Linked DNA regions of Homo sapiens: region 2 is linked to region 1. The links are contacts of gene promoters, found by promoter capture Hi-C in blood cells and fetal thymus (Javierre and others, 2016). All regions are on one chromosome and are shown on one strand. Each heading gives the region's core, a stretch centred on a gene start or on the middle of the fragment in contact. The rest is flanking DNA. Distances are from core to core; before and after follow the strand shown.

Region 1 (7,424 bases), core at 1,594-4,093:
TTTGTAATTAAAGTCTGTTACCAGAAGACATTGGCAGAAAAAAAAAATGCAAATCTTCTTTCTTTACTCAATAGAGATGACTGTTTGCCTTACATAAGAGACAAGGTCCTTGCAAACGCTCTGTCAAGAAACATTAAGCTACGAGAGGAATGTTCAGAATTCCCTGATGTTCTAAGGAACAAGCTATCAGAATTTGCCCTGAGGGCTCCTGTTGGCTAAGACACCTTGAGACCAAGAAAGAAGCAAAACATTTTCACTCTCCTGACAGCGTATAATTATTTAGTTCAAGTCTCCTTTGATTTTGCTCTGACCCTTGAAGCGATTCAAAGTGGGAAAACTCATGCTGTGAATGACAGGAAGGACTCCTTCAAGGACTTCTCTGACACCTGCAGGAAACTTAAAAGCTGCCAATGACCAAAATAAAGGACAAGCAGGGTGAGTTAATGTGCCTGGTGACATCCTGACAGAGCAGAATATCAGGGCTCATAATTCACCAGTCAGCACAAACAAGCTTCCCTAGAACGGGTTTTGAGCAGACGTGAAACAAGAGGCATAGGAGCTCTGGAGGTAACAGTTCAGCCCCTCATGGTGGAAAAAGATCATCCCTGTGCTCTCAGCTGAAAGGCAGAAAGGTGTGGGCTTTAAGTAGGAAGACTGTCCTGTGGCTCATGCCTGTAATCATAGCACTTTGAGAGGCTGGGGCCAGAGGATTGCTTGAGACCAGGATTTCGAGACCAGCTTGGGCATCACAGCGAGACCCCTTCTCTACAAAAATTTTTTTTAAAAGGAGTCAGGCCCAGTGGCACATTCTTGTAGTCCCAGCTACTCAGGAGACTGAGGTGGGATTCAAATAATCATTTGAATCCTGGAGGTCAAGGCTGCCATGACCTCCACTGTGCTACAGCCTGGGCGACAGAGTGAGACCCTGCCTTAAAAAAGGAAGAAAGAGGGCTGGGCGCAGTGGTTCATGCCTGTAATCCCAGCACTTTGGGAGGCCGAGGCAGGTGGATCACCTGAGGTCGGGAGTTCGAGACCAGCCTGACCAACGTGGAGAAACCCCGTCTCTACTAAAAATACAAAATTAGCCGGTCGTGGTGGTGCATGCCTGTAATCCTAGCTACTCAGGAGGCTGAGGAAGGAGAATTGCTTGAACCCAGGAGGCTGAGGTTGCAGTGAGCCGAGATCGCGCCACTGCACTCCAGCCTGGGCAACAAGAGCAAAACTCTGTCTCAAAAAAAAGAGGCCAGGTGTGGTGGCTCACCCCTGTAATCCCAGCACTTTGGGAGGCTAAGGTGGGTGGATCACTTCAGGCCAGGAGTTTGAGACCAGTCTGGCCAATAAGGTGAAACCCCGTCTCTACTAAAAATACAAAAATTAGCCGGGTGTGGTGGTGCACACCTGTAATCCCAGTTTCTCGGGAGGCTGAAGCACGAGAATCACTTGAACCCAGGAGGCTGAGGCTGCAGTGAGCCGAGATCGCGCTACTGCACTCCAGCCTGGGCGACAGAGCAAGAATTGTCTCAAAAAACAAAACAAAACAAAACAAAAAAAAAGGAAAAGAAAGAAAGCAGGAAGATTGTTTCTTCCTTGATTGCTGTTCAAAAGGTCAGGCCAGGCGTGGTGGCTCACACCTGTAATCCCAGCACTTTGGAAGGCCGAGGCGGATGGATCACCTGAGGTCAGGAGTTTGAGACCAGCCTGGCCAACACGGTGAAACCCCGTCTCTACTAAAAGTATGAAAATTAGCTGGGTGTGGTGGCATACGCCTGTAGTCCCAGCTACTCAGGAGGCTGAAGCAGGAGAATTGCTTGAACTCGGGAGGCAGAGGTTGCAGTGAGCGGAAATCGTGCCAATGCACTCCAGCCTGGGCGACAAAGCGAGACTCCGTCTCAAAAAAAAAAAAAAAAGTCAGGCCAGCTCACACGTCAGTGCATCTCAACTATGTTGCCACCACACACAGTTCCATCAGACAAACGTTCCCTGTGGGTCCAGAATTTTTCACAGTCCCCCGCACCTCTCCTCTCTCCCTAACCCGGGCTCTCCTATCTGGTCAAAACCCACTCCAAACTAGACCCATGGCCAAAATGTGGAATTCTTATCAAGGCCATTTTTCAACTTGGGCTACCTTCCCGCCCTCTCCCATCTTTCTTTCCCTGACAAATCTCAGGGGCTCTCCTGTACTTTATACACTAGTTTGGCTGGTGGTGGAGCGGTGGCAGGTGTCCTGGGCTTTTCCCACATTTTTCCCCTCCACCAGAGGCTTCACCACCTCCTCATATGTTGCTGTCACCCCCTCTTCTAAAGTGACTCAAGACAGGTGTCTATCCAAGAATGAGGGAATGCGATAGCCACATTTCGCTTCTCCCTGACGCTAGGAGACTTCCGGAAGGGTCCGACCGTACCTGCTCCAGTCCCCTTCCCTAGCACAGCCCAGCCTCCGGGTGCTAGAAGACCCCACTGTCTCCAACACTTCAGCGCCCCGCCTCCTCTGCAGTTCCACCTGCTGCTAGTCGCGCCCCTCACGCGTTACGATAGGCCAGACCTCAAAGCCCGCTCTCCCATTGGGCAGATGACCCGTCCCTCCTACGCCACGTCTCCCGGCTCTAGCGAGAGGCCCGGGCGGCGGCCGTGGGCCCTAGGGAAATCTGAGAGCTGGATGGCGGGAGAGGGGCTCTACCTGGAAGGGGTTTACATCCACTGGGTCCGCGAAGGGGTTGGTGTCGAAAGCCGACATGGTGATCGGGGGCCAGCGGGCGAACTCCGCGAACGCTGCTGCCTCCGGGCACCCAGACCCAGCGGCGCTTCGTGTAGACCCTCCACTTCCGGGAGCGAGGCAGCGGTTCTGGCGCAGGCGCGATGCCCTCCCCCGAGGGCGTGGCCCTATGACGGCACCGGGGTCGCTCCGCCCCCCCCCCCCCCCCCCCCGCCCAGCCCACAATAGTGCGGTGGGTGGGCATTCGGCTTCCGTCCACATCTTCGCTCTGCTGGGGATTCAGGGGTCTTGGCTGCGCGGAGCGTCTACGGAGCCAGAGGCGTGGCCGGAGTCCTTCCCAACTGCCTATCAATCTGACACCTTCCAATTTTATGTTTCTAAAGCAAACTCTCAAAAGTGGGACAGGAAACAGCCCCTTCACTTCTCTGTAGACCAAGTTTGGGAAGAAGTCCAAACTGATCCCTGGGCAAAGGACAGGGGTGACAGGTGAGGCCAGAGGCCTTGGGAGAACTAGGAAAGCGCTTCTTCTGCAGAACGTGCTCGGGGAAAGAGAAGTGCCAGGACCATCCAGCAGTCCTCCACCCGAGCTGAGCCTGCTTCTTCTAGGGCTGCTCGCCCTCTGATGTCGTTTCATCGTTTTAGGGACGAGGGTTCCTGGGCCCATCAGCTTTGGGACCTGAGTTGGGACTTGAACCTGGACATCAAACATTTATGAAGTGACTCACGGAATTCAGCAACACAGCCTCAATCATGGGGGAGGTGGCTGCTTCACTCTCCACAGCTCCGCTTTCCCCCGCCCCCGCCCCCCACAGGGTCTCACTGTCGCCCAGGCTGGAGTGCAGTGGTGCAATCATGGCTCACTGCAGCCTCGAGCTCCTGGGCTCAAGCAATCCTCCCACCTCAGCCTCCTGAGTAGCTGGGACTACAGCTGGTCACCACCATACCCAGCTAATTTATGGATTTTTTGTAGAGATGGGGATCTCACTATATTGCCCAGGCTCGTCTCAAACACCTGGGCTGAAGTGATCCTCCCGCCTTGGCTTCCTAAAATGCTAGGATTATACTCATGAACCACTGTCTGGCCAAATCCACCTTATTTATTTGGATCTGTCTGGTATTATTCATCTCTGCTGTCACCGAATCCCAGCCACTGTCATTTTTACCCTGAACTAATACAGTGCTGTTAATTGGTCTATTGTTCTTCATGTTGTAATCAAAGATATGTTTAAAGGGGGCAAAATTATCACAGAACTTTGTTAAAATTTTTCAATTAATTTCCATAAAGGGCTGGGTGCGTGGCTTATGCCTGTAATCCCAGTACTTTGGGAGGCAGAGGTAGGAGGATCACTTGAAGCCAGGAGTTCGAGACCAGCCTAGGCAACATACCAGGACCCTGGCTCTACAAAAAAAAAAAAAAAAAAAAAAAAATATATATATATATATATATATATATATATATACATATACATATCTCACACACACACGTAATTAGCTAGGCATGGTGGCCTGTGCCTGTACTCCCAGCTACTTGGGAGGCTGAGGCAGGAGGACTGTTTGAGCTCAGGAGGTCAAAGCTGCAGTGAGCCATCTTTGCACCACTACACTCCAGCTGAGTGACAGAGTGAGACCCTGTCTCAGTTAAAAAAAAAAAAAAAAAAATCAGGCCAGGCAAGGTGGCTCATGCCTGTAGTCGCAGCACTTTGGGAAGCCAAGGCAGGCAGATCACCTGAGGTCAAGAGTTCGAGACCAGCCTGGCCAATATGGTGAAACCTCATCTCTACTAAAAATACAAAATTAGCTGGGTGTGGTGGTGCACACCTGTAATCCCAGCTACTTGGGAGGCTGAGGCAGGAGAATCGTTTGAACCTGGGAGGCGGAGGTTGCAGTGAGCTAAGATTGCAACATTGCACTCCAGCCTGGGCAAAAAGAGTGAAACTCTGTCTCAAAAAAAAAAAAAAAAAATCATAAAGGCCCAAATTCTTAGTTTGTCTTCAAGGTCCTAAAGGATCTGCCCCTACGTTTCTCCCCTTCTGACCCCTTCTAGCCCCCAACCCCCACCCACTGTTCCAGCCATGCAAGTTCTTTTCAGTTGCTCAAACCTTCCTTGTGCCCTCCTGTCTCAGGGCCTTTACACATGTGTTCCTTCTACCTGGTATGCACTTAACCCATGCCCCACTATCATCCTCTGGTTAACCTCTCCTTACCCTTTAAATGCAAGTTCAGATGCCTTTCTTCAGGAGTAGCTTCCCTTCACTCTCTTGGTTACATCATCACCTCATACCCAACATAAGCTCTCCTATTGCCCTGTACTTTTCCTTCACAATACCCATTGCAGATTGTAATTAATACTAGTATAGGTGGTTCTTTATGCCTGTATCCTCCGCTAGACTGAAAGCTCCATGAGGGTAGGGCTGAGGTCTGTTTTGCTCACTGTTGTGTTTCTGTCACTAACATAGTATAAAGCACATGATACACATTTATTAATTTATTTTTTGTGGGTTTGGGGTTTTTTTTTTTTCCAGACAAAGTCTCACTCTGTCACCCAGGGTGGAGTACAGTGGCATGATCTCAGCTCAGTGCAATCTCCGCCTTCCAGGTCCAAGAGATTCTGCTGCTTTAGCCTCCCAAGTAGCTGGGATTACAGGCACTCACCACCACACCCAGTTAATTTTTTTTTTTTTTTTTTTGTAATTTTAATAGAGACTGGGTTTCACCATCTTGGCCAGGCTGGTCTTGAACTCCTGATTTCAAATGATCTGCTCGCCTCGGCCTCCCAAAGTGCTGGGATTACAGGCGTGAGCCACTGTGCCCAGCCCACATGCATCATACACATTTAGTAACTATTTTACTGTTTCCCTGCATCCATTTATTTTGTTTGTTTATTTAGAAACAGGGTGTTACTTTGTTGCCCAAGCTGGTGTTGAACTCCTGGCTTCAATTGATCCTGCCACTTCCGCCTCCCAAAGTACTGGGCCTACAGGTACACACCACTGCGCCTGGTCATCTGTTTCTTTCACCTTCCTCTCCCATCTAAATCCTGACTATCCTTTAGGGTTTAGCTCAGCTTTACTTCGGGAAATATCTGCACACAAGTGGGAGGATGGGGAAGGATCCATTTTGTATCCCCTTAGAAATTGCCTGTCCCCAAGCCTCTATGGCCACCCCTCAAGGGCAGCAGACAGATCTTTGCTGTCTGCTCTCTGCAGCCTCAGAGGAGAACAGTCCACACCCCACAAGGCAGTCCTGCCTGCTCTGGGTCTGCTGCAGCCAAGTACAATGCTGGGCTGGTGAAGAAAGAATGAAACTTAATTACAACCAATGTGGTGGCTGCCCATCTATCTGTCTAATTCCCTACAAGAGAGACATCATTCATTTATTCTACAAGAGAGGAGGTATAGAGAATGCAGCTCTTTGCTTTTAAACCAGTTATTTCACCTCTCCAAGACCCATTTTTCTCATCTTGATCTTGAAACCACCTTTGCAAAAATTATAACTGAGGAAATTATGACAGTGGGAGAGATTAGACCTAACCTACTCCATCTTGCTTCTGACCTTTAAGTGGTCCTTGTTCATTCCTGGGTGTAGGCTGAACTAACCTTGGGAAGGAATTTATAGTTTAACTCTGAAACAAAATTGATTATAGCCCTTTTCCAAAAAAAAAAAAAAAAAAAAATCCCTTCTTGCCTGGGGACCAGTCTGCCTTTCTGGACTAATAAATTAGCTACAAGATTAGAAACTATGGTTTAGGGACCATGCAGCCTTCAGCTGTGAGTCTGAACCTCCCCAGATTGCTCCTGAGAATAACATCACTATTGTAAAACCTAAGATCAGTGCTTGAGATATTTTGCAGACCTTGCACTTGATGGATCTGCTGACACCACCTCCAACAGTAATGTAGCTCAGACAGTTCTGCCATCCCACTCAGGAACAGAAGACAGCAAGAAAAACTCACTTCGACCCCCTATGATTCCATCTCCAACCCGACCAATCAGCACTCCCTACTTGCCTAGCCCCTACCAGCCAAATTATCTTTTTTTTTCTCTCTTTTTTTCTTTTTGAGACGGAGTCTTGCTCTGTCACCAGGCTAGAGTGCTGTGGCACAATCTCGGGTCACTGCAACCTCCAACTCCCCGGTTCAAGGGATTCTCCTGCCTCTGCCTCCCAAGTAGCTGGGATTACAGGCATGCGACACCATGCCCGGCTAATTTTTGTATTTTTAGTAGAGATGGGGTTTCACTATGTTGGCCAGGATGGTCTCGATCTCCTGACCTCGTGATCTGCCCGCCTCGGCCTCCCAAAGTGCTGGGATTACAGGCATGAGCCACCACACCCGGCCAAATTATCTTTAAAAACTCTGATCCCAGAGGCTGGGCGCAGTGGCTCACACCTGTAATCCCAGCACTTTCGGAGGCCAAGGCAGGTGGATCATAAGGTCAGGAGTTCAAGACCAGCCCGGCCAAGATGGTGAAGCCTCATCTCTACTAAAAAATACAAAAAAAATTGCTGAGCATGGTGGCAGTCGCCTGTAATCCCAGCTACTCGGGAGGCTGAGGCAGATAATTGCTTGAACCCGGGAGGTGGAGGTTGCAGTGAGCTGAGATCGTGCCATTGCACTCCAGCACAGGAGACAGAGCAAGACTCCATCTAAAATAAATAAATAAATAGGCCGGGCGCGGTGGCTCACGCCTGTAATCCCAGCACTTTGAGAGGC
Region 2 (7,424 bases), core at 1,786-4,285, 320 kb before region 1:
TACCGGCCGCTGAGTCAGCTCATAGCAGGATCCTGCCCTGACAGCGCTGGGAAAGTTCAGGCCCGAGGCGGCTGGGCTGCCCCCGCCTTGGCAGCTGGCCAGCGTCTGCGTGTGTGCGGTCGTTCCTAGAAAGTGCAGCCGCATGCGAGGAACAAGTGGAGCTCCAGAGCCTGTCTGTCTTCAGGAAGTGTAGCAGGTGTTGAGGTCAAGCCATTAGAGGTTTAAAAAAAGACTCTTCAGAACTGGCGTGTGCATGTGCACACGTGTGCACCGTGGCAGGGCACCCAGCATCATGTTATCTAGATGGTGGCAGCCCTATGACTACGTAGCTCAGTATTCAGGGGGCTGGCTGTTGGCATTTGAAACTCTTTGCGTTCACTTTATGTTTCTGAGGCATATTCACTAATTATAGACTGCTTGGCAGAGCACCTGCCAAAATGTTTTATAAATACCACAGTAGCTGAGGTATAATCCCTCACCCAAAATTTACCTTCCCCCAGGATTTGGAGATCAAGAACTGAACTGGGGGGCTTTGGGTAGCAATGACTTAAACCGTCAGATGTGCACGTCCTTTTCCCCTTTAATTTTTAACATTGATTTGATCTGTGCTCTCCTTTTCTATAAATCCTGATTTTAAAGGAGTAAATCATATGCTTGGGGATTTTAAAACTTTTTTTTTAGTATATTTTAGAAGGGCCAAAAATAATAATATTCTTGGGGAGAGCCTATAGAAACCATTACAGATCATTAGACTAGCTTGTTTTGTTGTTCAAAATCTTTACTTTATGAAACTTAATGGAGTGCAAAAATAGAATATCCCTTGCTCCAGCAACAATTACAAAGACCTTTACAATTGACACAGATCTTTCCCCCCCGCCTTCCCCCTCCCCCGCCGACACAGAGCGCACTCTGTTGCCCAGGCTGGAGTGCAGTGGCGCGATCTCGGCTTCCTGCAACCTCCGCCTCCTGAGTTCAAGTGATTTTCGTGCCTCACCCTCCCTAGCAGCTGAGATTACAGGCATATGCTACCATGCCTGGCTAATTTATTTTTTTATTTTTATTTATTTTTTTGTATTTTTAGTAGAGACAGGGTTTCGTCATGTTGGCCAGGCTGGTCTCAAACTCCTGACCTCAAGTGATCCGCCCGTCCTGGCCTCCCAAAGTGCTGGGATTACAGGCGTGAGCCACCGCGCCTACCCTGACACAGATCTTATTGTTAATGTGATACAGTGTCCATCTTGTTCTTTTGAACAACAAACTTTTACAGAGGCTTCTTTGTGCCAGACCTGTGCTGTATGAAACAAGGCATGTTTCTCTCTCAGGGAGTTCAGGTCTAGCGGTGGCAGTGTGGGAACCTCAAGGGGGATTCGAACTTGGGTTACAATAATTTGATTCTGTCCTGAGTCTACTGGAGCCCAGCCACCCAGTCTGCTATGGCAGAGATATTTTAAAACAGAGTTTTGTTTCAAACATTCACATGCCAAAGTTTAAAAAGTTAATTTTGTCTACAGCATAGCATAGCTTGGCAAACCAACAGGAATACTCAGAAGTATTTTGCAAGATTTTGGGGTAAGGGAGGACAGGCATCTGCTAACTGAAAAGTGAAACTGGGAAAGCTTAAGGGTTCCAGAGATTATTCTTTGCATCTGAAATCCCTTACTTAGAACATGTAAAGTCAAAATTATTTCGTGGATTCTCTTTGAAGAAACTCTTAGAAAATATTTGCTTCTCAAGGCCTGGATTGTTAAGGTGTGGTATTATTCTCTGACACCACAGTGATGGGAAGATGGATAACGCCATTGAGCCAAGTGTTCTAAAACCCATCAGATTCCTATGGGCAGAGTAAATAATTGTAAAACAAGAAAACAGACAAAGAACTGAGTGTTCCTTTTCTCAAAGGAGATCATACAGCCAACTAGGGGATGTTGCTGGCCTTTTGGGGGTGGTGTTCTCCCCCTCTGGTAGAAGGTGGTTCAAGCAGTACAGGCTGGGTCTGTCTTGAGCCCATTGGTAGAGCTAGGTTACTAGAAGGGTGTAGACCCCCTTCGATAGAATAGAAAGAAGAAAGATGGCTTGGCAGGCATGTGGGGCCAGGGTGCATGTGTCCGATTTTCTGCATACTTTGGCAGTCGCTTTGGTTACTGCATGTGGCTGTGATCCAACCACGGGCTTAACATACTTTCACAGCCAATTCAGTTGAAAGCACTGGGAGCCATTGCACAATAAATGTTGGCCCCCTCCTCTACCCTTCCCCTTCTAGCATGTTTTACAAGATTTTGTTTTGTGACTGCCTTCTAGGATGGAAGGGTTTAATTTCAGAATATTTGCAATTAAAGAATTCCTAACGTCCTAAAGCTTGCTAATCACATGTGTTAACAAGGACAGGGTATTACCAATTTCAAACACCTCCAAGCCGCTTGGGGCACCCTCAGCTCATGACAGCGTGGGTTCTCTCTGAATTTGTTGGAGAAGCACTTCTGCAGTACAGAAGCAAAGGAAGCTCCATGACAAATGGGAAGAATTGCCATGTTAGATGGGCACTGGGAGAGACAAAGGGAATGTGATTTGAGAAGAGGGAGTTTCGTGTTTGTTTTTGTTTTTTTGGGGTTTTTTTTGCCTATTCTTAACCATGAGCAAAATCAATCTCATCTTACCGTGAGAGTCGACTTCCTGCTGGGCAATTAGTGGAGACTACTGTCCATTTCTTCTAATGCCATGACTGACTGACTGGTGTCCAGAAGCCATCCCTCTAATTAAGGTGTAGTCCCTTGGGATAGGCCTACTTTTCTTTCTTTTTTTTTCTTTTTTTTTAGACGGTGTCTCGCTGTCACTCAGGCTAGAGTGCAGTGGCATGATCTCGGCTCACTGCAGGCTCCACCCCCCGGGGTTCACGCCATTCTCCTGCCTCAGCCTCCTGAGTAGCTGGGACTACAGGTGCCCGCCACCACGCCCGGCTAATTTTTTTGTATTTTTAGTAGAGACGGGGTTTCACCGTGTTAGCCAGGATGGTCTCGATCTCCTGACCTCGTGATCCGTCCGCCTCGGCCTCCCAAAGTGCTGGGATTACAGGCGTGAGCCACTGCGCCCGGCCGGGATAGGCCTACTTTTCTTGGTAGATACTGCATGACTATCATTAGCTGGGTGTGGTGGCACACGCCTGTAGTCCCAACTACTTCGGCAGGCTGAGGCAGGAAAATCACTTGAACCTGGGAGGCGAAGGTTGCAGTGAGTCGATATCATGCCACTTGCACTCCAGTTTGGATGACAGAGTGAGATGGTGTAAAAAAAAAAAAAAAGGGAAAAAGAAAAGATACAGCATGACTATGGAACATTTGAGGCTTTTTTAAAAAACTGTGCAAAGTATTGCCCAAAAAAGAAAATGTTCGTAGGCTTTCCTCATGTTCTTTATAGAGCTACCTTGCATGCCCTTGCCTTCTGCAGTCACAATGGAATCCATCTAGTTGAGTGGTTCTCAATTAGAGGTGACCCCTGCCCCTTCCCAGGGGACATTTGGCAGTGTCAGGAGACATTTTTGATTGCCATGACTGGAGTAGGGGGCAGTGTGCTATGGGCGTCTAGTGGGTAGACCAGGGATGCTGCTAAACATCCTATAACGCACTGGACAGCCCCCCAACAGCAAAGAGTTATCTGGTCCAAAATAACAGTAGTGCCAAGGTTGAGAAACCGTGCTCTAGATTGTGCAACCAGAAAGAACATAAGCTTCGCTATCATCAGACAGCACCAGAGACTCTTTTCCTTTGTGTTTCAGTCTCAGTAACTGAGGAGTTTGGCAGCCTTGAATTTTCTTGACTTCTGCTTTCAATATCTGTACCGAGCTCATGTCTTTCCTCTAGTCATCTAGGTGAACAGACTGTCACTTGGGAAAGGTTTGGGGCCTAGAACTTGAGATCTCTTACTTGACTCTATCAGTGATTCTTTCAGCCCAGCACTCCATGATATCTTTGATATCTTTGGTGATATATGAGAGAGCTTGGTTGCCCTTGTAGACATTAACCCCAAAAGGTTAAAGTGTAAATACTTGGCAGACTTGTTACCTAGTAACAGATTTAATTATTAAATCAGCATTGGTTTTGGAGCCAGAGGATGTGGATTAAGACCCTACTTCCCGCCAGGCGCAGTGGCTCACACCTGTAATCCCAGCACTTTGGGAGGCGGAGGCAGGCGGATCACGAGGTCAGGAGATCAAGACCATCTTGACTAACACAGTGAAACATCATCTCCGTCTCTACTAAAAATACAAAAAAAAAAAAAGTTAGCTGGGCGTGGTGGCAGGCGCCTGCGGTCCCAAGCTACTCCGGAGGCTGAGGCAGGAGAGTGGCATGAACCCGGGAGGCAGAACTTGCAGTAAGCTGAGATCACACCACTGCACTCCAGCCTGGGTGACAGAGTGAGTGTCCATCTCAAAAAAAAAAAAGGAAAAGAAAAAAGACCCTGCTTCCACTGCTTGCTTGCTCTAGTACTTTGGACAAGCGTTCTAATCTGCCTCTCTGAACCCATGCATCAATCTATTCCAGAGGATGATAATCCTCTCCCGCTATCCTCAGGAAGTGATTTTAAGGATATTACAAAGGTAGAAGAAAAATATGAGTGTGAAAGAGCTTTGCAGGGTTAGGGCGAATTGTCATCAACACCTAAGTCCTTTTTGAAGCTACCGTCGTCCCTCACATGCAGGGGATTGGTTCCAAGACCCCCACATATACCAAAATTTGAGCATACTCAAGTCCTGCAGTCAGCTCTGTGGAACCCACATATATTAAAAGTCAGTCTTCCATATACATGGGTTTCACATCTCGTAAATTTTGTCTTTGATCCAAGTTGGGTTGAAAATAGTTTACATATAAGTGGACCCAGGCAGTTCAAATCCACGTTGAAGGGTCAATCATAATTTTTCAGTCTTTATGACCTTTGTAGATAAGATGCTCCATAAATCCTACCCACTACTCTAAAACAACTCCTTTTCAGGTTTTCTAGAGCCCTGACCACACTCTGGTGTTCTGAAGTTCTCTGAAACCTTTCAGGATTATGTGAGCTTAAACCATGGCGCTTCTGAAGCTGTATCTTTCCGTATTAGCATAGGGATATGTGTGTATTGTTCTTTAGGTAGAAGTAAGCTTTATAGATACTAAGTCCTTATAAATACACAATCACTGACTTGACTTGGGTCCTTACCCTCTCACCAGAGGCTAATTTCTCTACATGTGTCCCAGATCCCATCCCCTTCCAGGTTTCCAGGGACTTGCTCCATCAGTGAACCCTCCATTTCCTGACTCTTTGGGCTCATTCTCTTCCAGGCCTTTTCCACGTTTACGCATCTTCTCTCTGTCAGACTTAAAAACAAGCAAACAACAACAAAAACCTTTAATCTTAAATTTTACCTGAGTCAGTTGTTAACAAGGAAATGAGAGACCACTTTTAAAAAATTTCCTCTTGATTGCACATTATTGCCAGCTTTTTTTCTATTCCTAACTATCCCCCACATCCTTGCAACAAAGCTTCTCAAAGGAATTGGTTTTACTCTTTATTTCCATTTGTCACCTCCTACTCACTCCTCAGCATACTCCAGTCTGATCTCTGTTTCTTCCATGTCCCTGAAGTTCCATGTTGCTAAGCCCAGCCTTCCCTGACCTCATTGATTTCTCAGCATTATTGAATACAGAGCACTCCCTCCTTGAATATTCTCTTCTTTTGCTTTCTATAGTCCTTCATTCTGCTTATGCTTATTTTCTTTTCCTTTTCTTTTTTCTTTCTTTCCTTTTTTTTTTTTTTTTTTTTTCTGAGACGGAGTCTCGCTCTGCCGCCCAGGCTAGAGTGCTGTGGCGTGATCTTGGCTCACTGCAATCTCCGCCTCCCGGGTTCAAGCGATTCTCCTGCCTCAGCCTCTCAAGTAGCTGGGACAACAGGCGCATGCCACCACGCCCAGCTAATTTTTTGTATTTTTAATAGAGATGGGGTTTCATTATGTTAGCCAGGATGGTCTCAATCTCCTGACCTCGTGATCCACCCGCCTTGGCCTCCCAAAGTGCTGGGATTACAGGCATACACCACCACACCCGGCTAATTTTGTATTTTTGGTAGAAACGGGGTTTCTCCACGTTGGTCAGGCTGGTCTCGAACTCCCGACCTCAGGTAATCCACACACCTTGGCCTCCCAAAGTGCTGGGATTACAGGCATGAGCCACCACGCCCAGCCTATTCTATGGATTTTGACAAATGTGTAATGACATGTATCCGCCATTGTAGTATCACACAGAGTAGTTTCACTGTCCTAAAAATTCTCTGTGCTTCACCTATTCATCTTTCCCTCCCCCTTAACCCCTGGCAGCCCCTGATTCTTTTCCTGTCTATGGTTTTGTCTCCTCCAGAATGTTATATGGTGGGATCATTAATGTAGCCTTTTTAGATTGGCTTTCTCCACTTAGTAATGTGCATTTAAGCTTCCTCTATATCTTTTTATGGCTTAGTAGCTTATTTCTTTTTGTGCTGAATAATATTTTGTTTTCTGGACATACCACAGTTTATCCATTCACCTCCTGAAGGACGTCTTGGTTGCTTCAAAGTTTTGGCAATTATGAATAAAGCTATCATACACATCTGTATACAGGTTTTTGTGTAGATATAAGTTTCAGTTTATCTGGGTAAATACCAAGAAGCGTGATTGCTGGATTGTGTGGTAAGAGTATTTTTAGCTTTCTAAGAAACTGCCCAACTGTGTCTCAAAGTGGGTGTACCATTTTGCATTCCCGTCAGCAGTGAATGAGCTTCTGTTGCTCCACATCCTCACCAGCATTTGGTATCGTTAGTGCTTTGGATTTTGGCCATGTTCCTTTAACTGAAATTTTTATTTAGCTAATTATAGATTCACAGGGAGTTGAAAGAAAGCAATGTCATGTACACTTTGTCCAGTTTCCCTATGGTAACAGCATATACAGGTATAGTATGCTGTCATACCTGGATATTGATGTTGACATCATCCACTGATCCTACTTAGATTTCTTCTTCAGTTTTACATGTACTCATTTGTGTGTGTTCTGTTTTTAAGCCATTTTAGTTTTACGTTGAACACATTTTTTGAAATTCTTGTTACTTAATAAATGCATTCAAGGCTATAGAGTTTTCCCTGGATCTCACTTTTGCTGTACCCCACAAGTTCTGATGTGTAGTGGTTTCATTGTTGGCTAGTACTAAACATTTTATAATTTCAGTTTTAATTGCTTCTTCAACTCATGGGTTGTTAAAAGTATTTTTTGGTTCCCAAATATGTGGGTTTTATCTCTTTTCCAGTATTATTTTATAGCTTGATTACATTGTAGTTGGGAAACGAGCATGGTATCAATTCTCTGAAATTTAAGATATTCTTTATGTTGGCCTTATGTGTGATTAGTTTCTATAAATGTTCCATGTGT

What was found. Contacts are between HindIII fragments. The CHiCAGO score rates a contact against its expected background, and 5 or more counts as called.
Region 2: a contact is called between a fragment that was not itself captured here and the fragment with the promoter of SCAMP2 in region 1, in 1 of 17 cell types (total CD8 T cells). The highest score is 5.6, in total CD8 T cells.

What each region holds. Positions count from the first base shown.
Region 1 is chr15:74,870,522-74,877,945 of GRCh38, forward strand. It overlaps SCAMP2 (secretory carrier membrane protein 2), which reads right to left and starts at 2,844. Exons shown (of 9, transcript NM_005697.5): 1 at 2,678-2,844. The coding sequence starts at 2,734. RefSeq lists an enhancer at 42-1,027. The HindIII fragment of the contact is 8,993 bases long and covers 510-7,424 here.
Region 2 is chr15:74,546,284-74,553,707 of GRCh38, forward strand. All of the region lies in intron 2 of ARID3B (AT-rich interaction domain 3B), which reads left to right. Among named protein-coding and RNA genes, the nearest start is that of ARID3B, 8.8 kb to the left of the region's middle. RefSeq lists a silencer at 1-281 and enhancers at 1-159, 1-291. The HindIII fragment of the contact is 1,365 bases long and covers 2,354-3,718 here.